3 separate regions of the Homo sapiens genome follow, and regions 2 and 3 are each linked to region 1. The links are contacts of gene promoters, found by promoter capture Hi-C in blood cells and fetal thymus (Javierre and others, 2016). All regions are on one chromosome and are shown on one strand. Each heading gives the region's core, a stretch centred on a gene start or on the middle of the fragment in contact. The rest is flanking DNA. Distances are from core to core; before and after follow the strand shown. Region 1 holds the start of RNASE10 (ribonuclease A family member 10 (inactive)). Region 2 overlaps TEP1 (telomerase associated protein 1). Region 3 overlaps TEP1 (telomerase associated protein 1).

Region 1 (4,382 bases), core at 662-3,161:
TGCTGCTTTGGATAGTCTCCTATCTAGGGCTAAATGATCAGATTTGCAAAATCCAGATATTCTTATGGGAATGTGGTTATTGGCTAGGGGAATGGAAAGAGGGAGTAGAGAGTGGAAAACTGGATAAAGTTATAGGTAAAGATATGTGAAAACTCATGATTGTCTCAAATACTCTAAATCTTGTCATAATACACTTGTAAAGTAATAATCATGTTGGAGAGATGGCCAAATAAAGGCCAAAGATCTTGACACTGCAGAAATTATAGGAGAGGATTAAAGGAAGTACATGTGGCAGATATAAGAAAAGACTAAACTTGAGATTCATGCACAAGGTCAGGCTGCATAAACCACAGGATAGCGGGTGTAACTCAGGAGCAGAACAATTGATCCATGAAACAAAACTGTCTGCAGTTTCCCAGGCTGGAGAGATTTCCCGTCTTGGATGTCTGGATCTGTCTCAGTGCCCAGATAGCCTCACTTCAAAGTGTTTGTGGGAACAGAAAGAATTGGCTGAGTGTGTTTGTTCAGTGCTAGGCGGAGGAAGTGAAACGGGGAGTGGGTTTAGGAAGTAAGTGTGTGTTTAAGAGCACGTGGACCACCAGAAGATAACCATTTTTCTTCAGACTAGCAGCCAGGGCACTGCTCACGAAGAAGGAAACCCTGGGAGGGAAGAACTTGGGGAACGAGAGGACACAAGAATCTCTGCAGCTGCTTATGCATGTACGTAAGTCACAGAGGTGTTGGGTGCCTCAAGGAACAACATGGAAGTCCTCTCTCTTTTTTAAAATAAATAATTTTTTAATAAATTTTCGAGCACTTTGGGAGGCCGAGGCGGGCGGGTCACGAGGTCGGGAGATCGAGACCATTCTGGCTAACACGGTGAAACCCCGTCTCTACTAAAAAATACAAAAAATTAGCCGGGCGCGGTGGCGGGCGCCTGTAGTCCCAGCTACTTGGGAGGCTGAGGCAGGAGAATGGCGTGAACCTGGGAGGCGGAGCTTGCAGTGAGCCGAGATCGCGCCACCGCACTCCAGCCTGGGCGACAGAGAGAGACTCCGTCTCAAAAAAAAAAAAAAAAAAAGGAATCTGTCATTACAACCTTCTCTCACAAAGAACTCCAGGCGCAGACAGCATCACCACAGCATTCTACCAACCATTTACAGGGAAAGTAATGCACGTCCACAAAACTCTTCCAGAAAGACAAGGGAGCACTCACCAGCTCCTGAGGCCAACGTAGCCTCAGTCCCTAACCCAGCAAGGACAGCAGCGGAGAGGAGCTCACAGGCCAGCCCCCGCCACACGTACACACCACTGCGAGGCTCCAAAGCTCAAGCAGCGTGTATCCAGCGAATACAACAAGAATAATGAAAAAGCGTTATCTGATCAATTGCTAGAGGAGCAGAAGTAACTCTGGCAAACCTCACTGAATGTGAATCCTGAAAGTGCCTTGATCTGCGGTTCTACAAGTTATGGTGCTGGAGGTCTCAGCCAATGCTGTAGGGTAGGACAAAGAAAGAGCTCCAGTGCCAGACAAGAAAAAGTAAAACTCTGATTGATTCACCCATGAAACAGTGTCTGTGTTTAGAAACCCCAAAAGAATATATAGACAAATCATAAGGATGAAAAAGTGAGTTTGCTCCCTCTCCCTCTCCCTCTCCCTCTCCCTCTCCCTCTCCCTCTCCCTCTCCCTCTCCCTCTCCCTCCACGGTCTCCTTCCACGGTCTCCCTCTGATGCCGAGCCAAAGCTGGACGGTACTGCTGCCATCTCGGCTCACTGCAACCTCCCTGCCTGATTCTCCTGCCTCAGCCTGCCGAGGGCCTGCGATTGCAGGCGCGCGCCACCACGCCTGACTGGTTTTCGTACTTTTTTGGTGGAGACGGGGTTTCACTGTGTTGGCCGGGCTGGTCTCCAGCTCCTAACCGCGAGTGATCCGCCAGCCTTGGCCTCCCAAGGTGCCGGGATTGCAGACGGAGTCTGGTTCACTCAGTGCTCAATGGTGCCCAGGCTGGAGTGCAGTGGCGTGATCTCAGCTCGCTACAACCTCCATCTCCCAGCCGCCTGCCTTGGCCTCCCAAAGTGCCGAGATTGCAGCCTCTGCCTGGCCGCCACCCCGTCTGGGAAGTGAGGAGCGTCTCTGCCTGGCCGCCCATCGTCTGGGATACGAGGAGCCTCTCTGCCTGGCTGCCCAGTCTGGAAAGTGAGGAGCGTCTCTGCCCGGCCGCCATCCCATCTAGGAAGCGAGGAGCGCCTCTTCCCCGCCGCCATCCCATCTAGGAAGTGAGGAGCGTCTCTGCCCGGCCGCCCATCGTCTGAGATGTGGGGAGCACCTCTGCCCCGCCGCCCTGTCTGGGATGTGAGGAGCGCCTCTGCTGGGCCGCAACCCTGTCTGGGAGGTGAGGAGCGTCTCTGCCCGGCCGCCCCGTCTGAGAAGTGAGGAAACCCTCTGCCTGGCAACCGCCCCGTCTGAGAAGTGAGGAGCCCCTCCGTCCGGCAGCCACCCCGTCTGGGAAGTGAGGAGCGTCTCCGCCCGGCAGCCACCCCGTCCGGGAGGGAGGTGGGGGGGGGTCAGCCCCCCGCCCGGCCAGCCGCCCCGTCCGGGAGGTGAGGGGCTCCTCTGCCCGGCCGCCCCTACTGGGAAGTGAGGAGCCCATCTGCCCGGCCAGCCGCCCCGTCCGGGAGGGAGGTGGGGGGGGTCAGCCCCCCGCCCGGCCAGCCGCCCAGTCCGGGAGGTGAGGGGCGCCTCTGCCCGGCCGCCCCTACTGGGAAGTGAGGAGCCCCTCTGCCCGGCCAGCCGTCCCGTCCGGGAGGGGGGAGGGGGGGTCAGCCCCCTGCCCGGCCAGCCGCCCCGTCCGGGAGGGAGGTGGTGGGGGTCAGCCCCCCGCCCGGCCAGCCGCCCTATCCAGGAGGTGAGGGGCGCCTCTGCCCGGCCGCCCCTACTGGGAAGTGAGGAGCCCCTCTGCCCGGCCAGCCGCCCAGTCCGGGAGGGAGGTGGGGGGATCAGCCCCCCGCCTGGCCAGCCGCCCAGTCCAGGAGGGAGGTGGGGGGTCAGCCCCCCGCCCGGCCAGCCGCCCCGTCCGGGAGGGAGGTGGGGGGGTCAGCCCCCCGCCCGGCCAGCCGCCCCGTCCGGGAGGGAGGTGGGGGGGGTCAGCCCCCCGCCCGGCCAGCCGCCCCGTCCGGGAGGGAGGTGGGGGGATCAGCCCCCCGCCTGGCCAGCCGCCCCGTCCGGGAGGTGAGGGGCGCCTCTGCCCGGCCGCCCCTACTGGGAAGTGAGGAGCCCCTCTGCCTGGCCAGCCGCCCCGTCCGGGAGGGGGGAGGGGGGGTCAGCCCCCCGCCCGGCCAGCCGCCCCGTCCGGGAGGGAGGTGGTGGGGGTCAGCCCCCCGCCCGGCCAGCCGCCCTGTCCGGGAGGTGAGGGGCGCCTCTGCCCGGCCGCCCCTACTGGGAAGTGAGGAGCCCCTCTGCCCGGCCAGGACCCCGTCTGGGAGGTGTGCCCAGCGGCTCATTGGGGATGGGCCATGATGACAATGGCGGTTTTGTGGAATAGAAAGGCGGGAAGGGTGGGGAAAAAATTGAGAAATCGGATGGTTGCCGGGTCTGTGTGGATAGAAGTAGACATGGGAGACTTTTCATTTTGTTCTGTACTAAGAAAAATTCTTCTGCCTTGGGATCCTGTTGATCTGTGACCTTATCCCCAACCCTGTGCTCTCTGAAACATGTGCTGTGTCCACTCAGGGTTAAATGGATTAAGGGCGGTGCAAGATGTGCTTTGTTAAACAGATGCTTGAAGGCAGCATGCTCGTTAAGAGTCATCACCACTCCCTAATCTTAAGTACCCAGGGACACAAACACTGCGGAAGGCTGCAGGGTCCTCTGCCTAGGAAAACCAGAGACCTTTGTTCACTTGTTTATCTGCTGACCTTCCCTCCACTATTGTCCTATGACCCTGCCAAATCCCCCTCTGCGAGAAACACCCAAGAATGATCAATTAAAAAAATAAATAAATAAATAAATAAAATTTTCAACTTTACAAACAAATGTGATAATAATTCATGGAACTCATGAATATTCTTTATCCAGGTACATTATTTTTTTAAACTTCCCTTATTTATTTATTTATTTATTTATTTATTTATTTATTTAGAGATAGATTCTCACTCCGGTTGCCCAGGCTGGGGTGTAGCAGTTGGATCATGGCTCACTGCAGCCTCAACTTCCTGGGCTCCAACCATCCTCCCACCTCAGCCTGCCTGGTAGCTGGAACTGAAGACACACGCCACCAAGCCAGGCTAATTTTTTCATATTTTTTGTAGAGATGGGGTTTCACCATGTTGCCCAGGCTGGTCTCAAACTCCGGGACTCAAGTGATCCACCTGCCTCGGTCTC
Region 2 (4,382 bases), core at 1,202-3,701, 120 kb before region 1:
ATTAGATTACATGGCTATGTTTTGGTTCCTTTTTTACCTCGTATGTCTTATCTCCCAACAAAACTGACCACTTGGTGGGCAATGACAATGTCCCAAATCCTGTGTTTCTTGCAACGCTTAGCACAGTGCCTTAAATGGAAGGTGTGCAGCAAATATTTGCTGTGTGATTGATTTTTTGGCCAAGCCCTTTGAGCTGATGTGCAGGCAGTAAAGTTGCTGAATTAATCAGAGTGATAACAGGTGTGTTTGGCTCATCTAGGGCTTCAGGGCAGTCTGCATGGATTTTCAGAGGGTAAATTCTGCCCCTCCTTGATTGTCATACCTGCCAAGTTCTCAGGTCCAACAGGTAAACTGTCCCATTGGCAGTGCCCACAGCTGCTCTTTGCCCATTGGTGGAGAAGGCCACAGCAGTAGGGGATGAGGAAACTGCCAGAGACAGGCTGGAGCTAGAGAAAGAGTAGGAAGAAAGGGAGGAAATAAACGAGAGAATGCAAACAGGAGTTGATTTATGTGCTTCTGTGCCTGGATCCCTCTCCAGTGTTTCTGGTCATCCTTATTCCTCAGTTTCAGAAAGAGCTGCAGCTTGCTCTCTGGTGGGCTTACTAGGGTCTGGGGTCAAGGTCTTACCTTTGCTGATTTTTCATGGTCCGGGGTTTATTAAGCCATCGTAGTGTGTGTTGGAGGTGCCATCTCCGGGAGAGCAGCGAGGCTTGGTGGCAAAGAGGTGAGTCCAGGGGCTGGTTGGCTGCCTGCTGGGGCAGGAGCCGGGGGTACTGGCTGAGGATTGAAGCCTGCTGCCTCAGGAAGGTGCGAAACACTGCAACGTCAGCCTCGGGGAGCTTTTGTTCCTCTTTGGGGACTGAAGAAGCTATAAAAGGGTGGCAGAATGTCACTGGGGAGCCAGCTGGACCCCATTAGCCCCAGCACCAAATAAAACCATATGGTGTGTCTACAATAGTAAGTCTCAAAGTGTGGCCCTCTGGCCCTATATCAGGAATATCTCTTAAAAGTACAAAGCTTTGAGCCCCACTCCAAACCTAGGAAACCAGAATATGGAGACCCAAGGATCTGCAATTTGAACAAGTTTCCTAGATAGTTTTATGCTAACTAAATAAAGTTGAAGAATCTCTGGTCCAAGAGATCAAGGTGAAAGGTCTCCTGAGAGTCACGTGCTCACCCTCTTGGCATTTTCAACTCGAAATGGAAATTTGAATCTTTTTTCCCTGACACCCACACCCCTGCCCCAACCCTGAGCAGGGCCCCCATAAGCACACCCAGGAGTCCCATATCTCAGAGAAGAACCCAGCCAGTGACTCATCTCACCATAGAGGGCATGGGCCTCCAAGAGCCGAGAGACCAGACCCAATTCCAAGTGTGCAGCCACCACATGGAGGTTGGTAAGGAACTTCGAAAGAAGTCCACGGTTCCCGCTCTGGAGCTGAGAAGGTCAGATTGAATTCATTAGGGATATGAAGGGGCTGGTGAGAAGGGACAGTTTAGTCTCAGAACCTGGATACAGAGATAGGATCTGAGCTGGGACAAAGGACTTGAAGAAGAAGGGCAGGAAAACTGAAAGGAAAGAGGTCAAGGGAGTTTGGGAGGGGTAATGGCGGCGGTGATGGTGGAGATGGTAACGGGGAGAGGGGTCTCAGAGCAACCAAAGCACTCACTTTGGGAAAGGTGTCTATGGGGTCTAGGAACTAACCAGGTGGTAAGGCAGGTCTCCCAGAGCCTCAGGAGGGCAACTTCGGAAGGTGCCTGAGGCATCAGCGTCACATGTCTTCCAGAGCTGAGCTGCATGAACAGATATTGAGAAAGGCTCAGCCCTGCATCATTCCCAAGGGCAGTAGGTGAGCTGGCCAGCAGATGGGAGCACAGTGGGTGGTCCTGGCCTCCAGGCCCAAGCCCCACACTCAGTGCCCAGGCTGACTTGGGCTGCAATCACCTGCAATGAGGATGTGTGCCGTGTCCTCTAGCCCTGGCCTCTTCCCATAGCAACGTTTAGCTGCTGTTCTCAGGGGCCCATCAGGGAGGCACAGCCGGGCACCAGGGCGCTCCAGAGGGCCCTCCCCTAGCAAACTGTCCTCGTGTGAGGAAGGGAGAGAGAAGAAGGAAGAGGCCTGTCAGTGAGCTTCCTGGCACACAGTGGGCTCCTATTCCCCCCTCAAATAGCGGAAACTGGAGCAGCTGGAGCAGTAGCTCATTCATGGTCTGGGAGCCAGTTGTTGAAGCTATACAGAGGGCCCCGGCTCAAAGAAGGGAAGGCACAGAGAGGTCAGCGGGAGCTCTGCTGGGGCACCTGTACCTGCGCAGACTCTGGACGAGGCAGGCAAACGGGCCCATGGGGTAGGGGTCTCCACTGTTACCAGCAGCCACTGCTTCTTCCCAGCTCTTAGTCCCCTTCGGTAGTGTCCGCCACACACTCAGCACTCCGTGCAGCTGGTCCACAGTCAAACCTGAAAACTCAAGCTCTCTGAGGCCCTCATCTAACCATACGGTGTCCCCGCCCCCACCACACCCAGTCTCTCCTTGAACTGCCTGCTGAGACCCCAAGGGAACCAATGTAATCCGAACCCTGGCCCTCAGCCTCCCAACCAACCCACCCCAAGCACTGACCACTCCGTGTGACTTCTAGGGCAGTCAAGGCCTGGGGAAGGACATCAGGCCCGTGCTCCTTCTCCAGTGTGCTCAGGATGTGCTGCAGCAGCAGGGGGACAGTGGCAGGCAGGGTCCGGAGTCTCTCAGACACCTAGGATGGCGGGAGGACAGCCTTGTTCAGTGCAGTGGGAGGAGAAGCAGCTTGGCTTGTGGGATAGGGAAGGGGCAGCAGGAGGACAGTGTGGAGGAATGAAAAAGTAAAGAACAACAGTAGGAGGGAAGTGAGGCGAGGTATGAGGCGAGGATAGGGAGTGGGTGATCACAAGACAGCAAAGGACGTGGGATAGGGATGAGACAAAGCAGCTGAAGAGAGAATGGGAAGTAGTGATTAGGACTTGGAAGGTGATGAGAACTGACCTGCTCATACAGCGTGAAGAGCCTCAGGTGATCGGTGACCAAGCGCAGGTAGAGCGGCCGGCCTGATTCCCGCTTCACCAGCAGCAGTCGCATCTGGCAAGACTCAGGACTCAGGGTGGGGTCCAGGAGGGCTGCCCGCAGCCAGCCCTCTGCCCCAGCACCAGCCCCTCTGCCAGGCAGCTCCTCCTCTGAGAGTCCCCAGCAGACGCCAGGTCCATGGCATCATCCCAGGACACAAACCATCCCTCTCCTACGCTGCTCTGCCCAGCCAGCCCTGCCAGAAAACCCCTGTGGCTCGGCCTACCCCACCAAAAACCACTTGACTCATCCCCTCACCCCGAGAGGCCCTGGAAAGGCCATTCACCGGGGGAAGAGGGCTGGGTGACATGATCAGGAATCACAATTTTCTTATTAACAACTTCCCATGGACAGAATTTCTGAGAAAACAAAGGAGCAGGTCTGTGCAAGGCAGCTAGCGGCCTCGGCACCCCAGGTCCTCATAGCTCCCAGATTCACCCCACACACCCACCGGCCCCGGCCTAGAACCCAACCTGGTTGTTAAATGGTGACTCCTCCAGCCGCTTCCCGTACAGGGCCAGCTCCTCTCTCACCAGCCGGGCCCGAGCAGAGGCCTCCAGAGGCCCCAAGGCCAGCACGTGGGCACCCTGGCTCTGCTCAAGGGTCTCCCCTAGGCCTGCATCACTAGACACACTCAGCACCAGGTGTACACACTGTGATATTTGGGCAAAGGGGCAGGAAGGTAGAAAGAAAAGGAGAACCACATTGGAGAGGCCTCTCTCCTCCGTGCCGTATCCCTCCTTCTCCCCAGCCTGCCTCCCGACACCCACCTCCTTCTCACACTCACCCGGGGAAGCTTCTTTGGGATCCAGTCTGAAATCAGCTGCCCATTCTGGTCCACTAACCTATCAGCCCCATCGATGATCAGGACCTGGGTCTGGCCAGGATGCAGGGACTCAGCAGACTTGGGCAGCAGCCTCTGCTGCAGCTCCCACACCAGGCTTCTGTACATGGAGAGGAAGTCAGGGTCAGTGGGAGAGAAAAAAAAAGCAGGGGTGGTACGTGGGCATCAACAAGGCTGGGCTCATTGGGGGATACCCACCGGTAGGTGCTGGGGAGGGCACCTGGCTCTTTTAGTTGGCCACGCAGATAGGTACAGAGGCGTCTGAGCAGAGTGAGGGCAAGACCCTGGTCAGGACGAGCCCCAGAAAAGTGGAAGAAGACTAATGATGCCACCTTGGCCCCATCAGGAGCCTGCAGGGCTGACACAAGAGATGCCTGCATGGGACAGGAACAGAAAACATGGTCACATTTTACATGCCTGAGCTCCCTGTGCCTTACCTCCTTAG
Region 3 (4,382 bases), core at 707-3,206, 110 kb before region 1:
ACCAGCCTTGCCAACATCGCAAAACCCCATCTCTATAAATAAAAAACAAAGACTCCTTCTGAAATCAGTTACATCACACAAGTGTCTCTTCCTGGTAAGTCACTGAGCTCAGAAAATTAAAATGAAAGTTCTTATACTCTACTGTAACTTCTCAAAGGATTTACTGAACCCCAAAACTTATCTCCCTCAACCTAGCTGTATTCCCAGATCTACTTACAGCCCACATGGAAACAGCTTGAGGGCCGTACCTGCCTCTGCCCCCTGAAAAAGCCTGGCCTCTAAAGCAGCAGTGGCCTCTCCACGTGCACATCTAGTTGCTGGGCCCCATGGCTACCAGCCCCTCACACATACCGCATGCTGGAGTCTCTGGAGAATGAGCTCATGGTGGCGGGAACTGATTCCAACCCGCAGCAGGTTGCACAGGTTCCGAAGCATGGCCATGAAGGGAAGCTTCCCATTTTCTGTGGAATGTGGGGCATAGAGTGAGAAAAACAAATGAGAAGGCCAGGCACAGTGGCATGCACCTATAATCTCAGCTACCAAGGAGGCTGAGACAGAAGGATCACTTGAGCCCAGAACCCAGGAATTAGAGTCCAGCCTGGGCAACATAGCAAGACTGTCTCAAAAAAAAAAAGCAAATGAGGGATGATTAGAGAGAGGTCAGAGACCAGAGCAAGAAGTTCAGAAACCAGGCATGTGGAAAGTCCAAGATAGAGGAAGTGAGGAATTCACATACAATCTACCCTACTCAAAATGTTTTAAAGGCTTGGAAAGATTAAAAACAGGGTTGGCCCAAAGTTTGGAACAAAATTTATGCAACACTGTTTATGGGATGGCTGTTATGTTACCACTTAATCTGTTGGCTCTAGCCCTAAGATTGGGTTCAACTGGCAAAATGTATTATCTAGTCTAGAGCAAAGGTTTCTAAACTTTTTAGATGGCCAAAAGAGAAATTTCGTAGTGTAAGTTGATTTATGAAGTATATACTAACATAATGTAGCACATTCATTAGTTAATATTTCAAGGCACAATATCCATTTAAAAGAAGGTTCACCATTTATGAAACCCCGTCTCTACAAAAATACAAAAATTAGCCAGGCGTGGTGTCTGGTGCCTCTAATCCCAGCCACTCGAAAGGCTGAGTCAGGAGAATCGCTTGAAACCAAAATGCGAAGGTTGCAGTGAACCGAGATCACGCCACTGCACTGCAGCCTGGGTGACAAAGCAAGACTCTGTCTCCAAAAAAAAAATTAAAAAAAAGTTCACCATTTATAATGACGAATGTATGTAAATCCATATTTGAAATAGTCTTCATAATTTGTAAGCTTCTCACCCAATTTCTTCTATTTGATTAGTCATTACTTTTTTTGCTTAAATATAGGTGAAAAAGATTTGCACTGGAGATAGAATTTCACCACTGACCTCTGTCACTTCCTTATTGTTCCCTTGTACCTGTGTTATTAATATTATCTTCAAGCCATAGTTTCTTTTCTTTTTTTTTTGAGACGGAGTCTCACTCTGTCACCCAGGCTAGAGTGTGGTGGTGCAATCTCAGCTCACTGCAACCTCTGATTCCTGGATTCAAGCAATTCTCCTGCCTCAGCCTCCGAGTAGCTGGGATTACAAGTGCTCACCACCATGCCTGGCTAATTTTTGTATTTTTAGTAGAGACGGGGTTTCACCATGTTGGCCAGGCTGGTCTCAAACTCCCGATCTACAGTGATCTGCCTGCCTCGGCCTCCCAAATTGCTGGGATTACAGGCGTGAGCCACCATGCCCAGCCCATAGTTTCTTAATAATAATATTTTTAAGGTTTATATCAATTTTAGGCCGGGTGCAGTGGCTCACGCCTGTAATCCCAGCACTTTGGAAGGCCGACTCAGGCGGATCATGAGGTCAGGAGATCAAGACCATCCTCGCTAACACGGTGAAACCCCATCTCTACTAAAAATACAAAAATTAGCCGGGCGTGGTGGTGGTCGCCTGTAATCTCAGCTAATCAGGAGGCTGAAGCAGGAGAATCACTTGAACCTGGGAGGCGGAGGTTGAAGTGAGCCGAGGTCGCGCCATTGCACTCCAGCCTGGGCATCAAAGTGAGACTCCGCCCAAAAAAAAAAAAAAAAGGTTTATATCAATTTTAGACAGTTAATTTGGTTAATACTGAATAATATAATTCCAAATCCATCTACAATTGAAAGATAAATTGCTATAAGTCAAATTATATAGAAACCAAAATTAAAAAAAAAAAAGAGTGAAGGGGTGACATTAATGCCCTCAGATTGTGGATGCTCAGAAAACCTCAACTATTACACGTAACACATAACACTGTATCATATGGATTCAGTGACTATGTGGGTTCAATCTGCATGGTAAGTACTGGGAAAATTCTTTTCTTTTAGATAAAAGTAAACATAAATAGGAGGTGTGATTTTCTTTTCCTGGACAGAGGTGCATTCAAACCACTTTAGAGGCCAGGCCGGTCAGTCCGTCACCATGCCTTGTGCACCAGCCCACACCATCAGCAGCTTCATCAGGTAAATGCTGCTCCCTTTGTAAAGGGGATGTAAGTCTTATTTGAATTATAGCTGGAAGCTTTCAGCCCTCTGGAAGTCTTGGGATTCTCCAGTCATCATTCTTTTTTTTTTTATTTTTGAGATGGAGTCTGTCTCTGTCACTCAGTGGCACAATCTTGGCTCGCTGCAACCTCCACTTTCCAGGCTCAAGCAATCCTCCTGCCTCAACCTCCCAAGCAGCTGGGACCACAGACATCAACCACCATGCCCAGCTAATTTTTCTATTTTTGGTTAGAGACGGGGTTTCACCATGTTGCTCAGGCTGGTCTCAAACTCCTGAGCTCAAGTGATTTGCCCGCCCCAGCCTCCCAAAGTGCTGGGATTACAGGCGTGAGCCATGGTGCCTGGCCTCCAGTCATAATTCTGATTCACAAACTGTATGGAACAATTAGGTTGTATATGTACTATAAATGAACTATTGCATCCATTGTCGACTCAAGTTTTTTCCACTGTTACTATGTATAAAAGGTTTTCTAGATCATTTTCGGTAAGAAATTAAGTCCAATATCATACTGGTGATATTAGAAAATAAACTGGACATTTATCCTTAAGATTGCAAAATTCACTAATTTCATTCCAAAAAAATGTTAATGAGTTATTAATGAGATCTGTGGTCTTCAAAAAGGGTTCTGTATATCCAATTACATTTTATCTTATATTTTATACTTATATCTTTTTTTATATTTCCTTTTATTTATTTATATTTATTTTTGGCTGGGCACAGTGGCTTACATCTGTAATCCCAGCAATTGGAGACCAGCCTTGGCAACAAAGTGAGGCCCTGTTTCTTAAAAAAAAAAAAAAAAAAAAAAAAAGTACATATACATATATTCTGGTGTATCCTAAAAATTGTTTTTGTAGTATATGATTAAAAAAAAGAAACACTAGCCACCACGGGATTAGACTATGGGCATTTGCCTCAACCAGGATAAATGACATTAAAAGAATAAATTTACATGTCCTTACATTTTCAGGGACAGTGGTTCTCAACCAGAGGGAGGAAGTGGAGATGGGTGCATATAGAATTATCTTCATATGGCTGGGCGTGGTGGCTCACACCTATAATCCCAGCACTTTGGGAGGCCGAGGCGAGTGGATTACTGGAGGTCAGGAGTTCAAGACCAGCCAATATGGTGAAACGCCGTCTCTACTAAAAATACAAAATTAGCTGGGCATGGTGGCATGCGCCTGTAATCCCAGCTACTCGGGAGACTGAGGCAGGAGGCAGAAGTTGCAGTGAGCCAAGATTGCGCCATTGCATTCCGGCCTGGGCAAAAAGAGCAAAACTCCGTCTCAAAAAAAAAAAAAAAAAAAAAAAAAGAATTATCTACATATACCGGCTTCTATCCAGGCCCCTTTATTCTACTCCACCCCAAGTGGTTTCAACCATCAGGGAAGAAGAGGCTGTCAACTGGGGGCAGGTGTGTGTGTGTATGTGTGTTTGTGTGTGGGTGCGTGTGTGTGTGTGTGCAGTGGCTCATGCCTATAATTCCAGCACTTTGGGAGGCCAAGGTAGGAGAAATGCTTGAGGCCATGAGTTTGAGACCAGCCTGGGCAACATTACAAAGACCTTGTCTCTAAAATTTAAAAAGAAAAGTAATAATTTTATAAAGTAAAAAACGAAAGAAAGAGCCTGCTATAGGTAAAAGTAGACCAAAAAAAAAAAAAAAAAAAAAAAAACAGAGAAAGAGAAAACTGAAGATAACTTGATCCTCCTCTATTTGACTTTTTTTTTTTCTGTATCAATGTGGGCAAATTACCTAAAACTTCCATGTCCTAAATACAATATGAGGTTCTGTACAGATTCCA

Evidence for each region. Contacts are between HindIII fragments. The CHiCAGO score rates a contact against its expected background, and 5 or more counts as called.
Region 2: a contact is called between a fragment that was not itself captured here and the fragment with the promoter of RNASE10 in region 1, in 1 of 17 cell types (naive B cells). The highest score is 5.4, in naive B cells.
Region 3: a contact is called between a fragment that was not itself captured here and the fragment with the promoter of RNASE10 in region 1, in 4 of 17 cell types (M0 macrophages, total B cells, naive B cells and 1 more). The highest score is 5.9, in M0 macrophages.

Annotation. Positions count from the first base shown.
Region 1 is chr14:20,503,626-20,508,007 of GRCh38, forward strand. RNASE10 (ribonuclease A family member 10 (inactive)) reads left to right here and starts at 1,912. Exons shown (of 2, transcript NM_001386206.3): 1 at 1,912-2,394. The HindIII fragment of the contact is 24,242 bases long and covers 1-4,382 here.
Region 2 is chr14:20,379,608-20,383,989 of GRCh38, forward strand. TEP1 (telomerase associated protein 1) reads right to left here. Exons shown (of 55, transcript NM_007110.5): 25 at 4,136-4,311; 26 at 3,881-4,037; 27 at 3,567-3,746; 28 at 3,016-3,108; 29 at 2,617-2,749; 30 at 2,306-2,456; 31 at 1,946-2,079; 32 at 1,706-1,794; 33 at 1,324-1,438; 34 at 628-868; 35 at 323-446. Among named protein-coding and RNA genes, the nearest start is that of TEP1, 32 kb to the right of the region's middle. RefSeq lists a silencer at 1-129. The HindIII fragment of the contact is 2,872 bases long and covers 1,016-3,887 here.
Region 3 is chr14:20,396,270-20,400,651 of GRCh38, forward strand. TEP1 (telomerase associated protein 1) reads right to left here. Exons shown (of 55, transcript NM_007110.5): 10 at 352-461. Among named protein-coding and RNA genes, the nearest start is that of TEP1, 15 kb to the right of the region's middle. RefSeq lists an enhancer at 4,360-4,382. The HindIII fragment of the contact is 1,267 bases long and covers 1,324-2,590 here.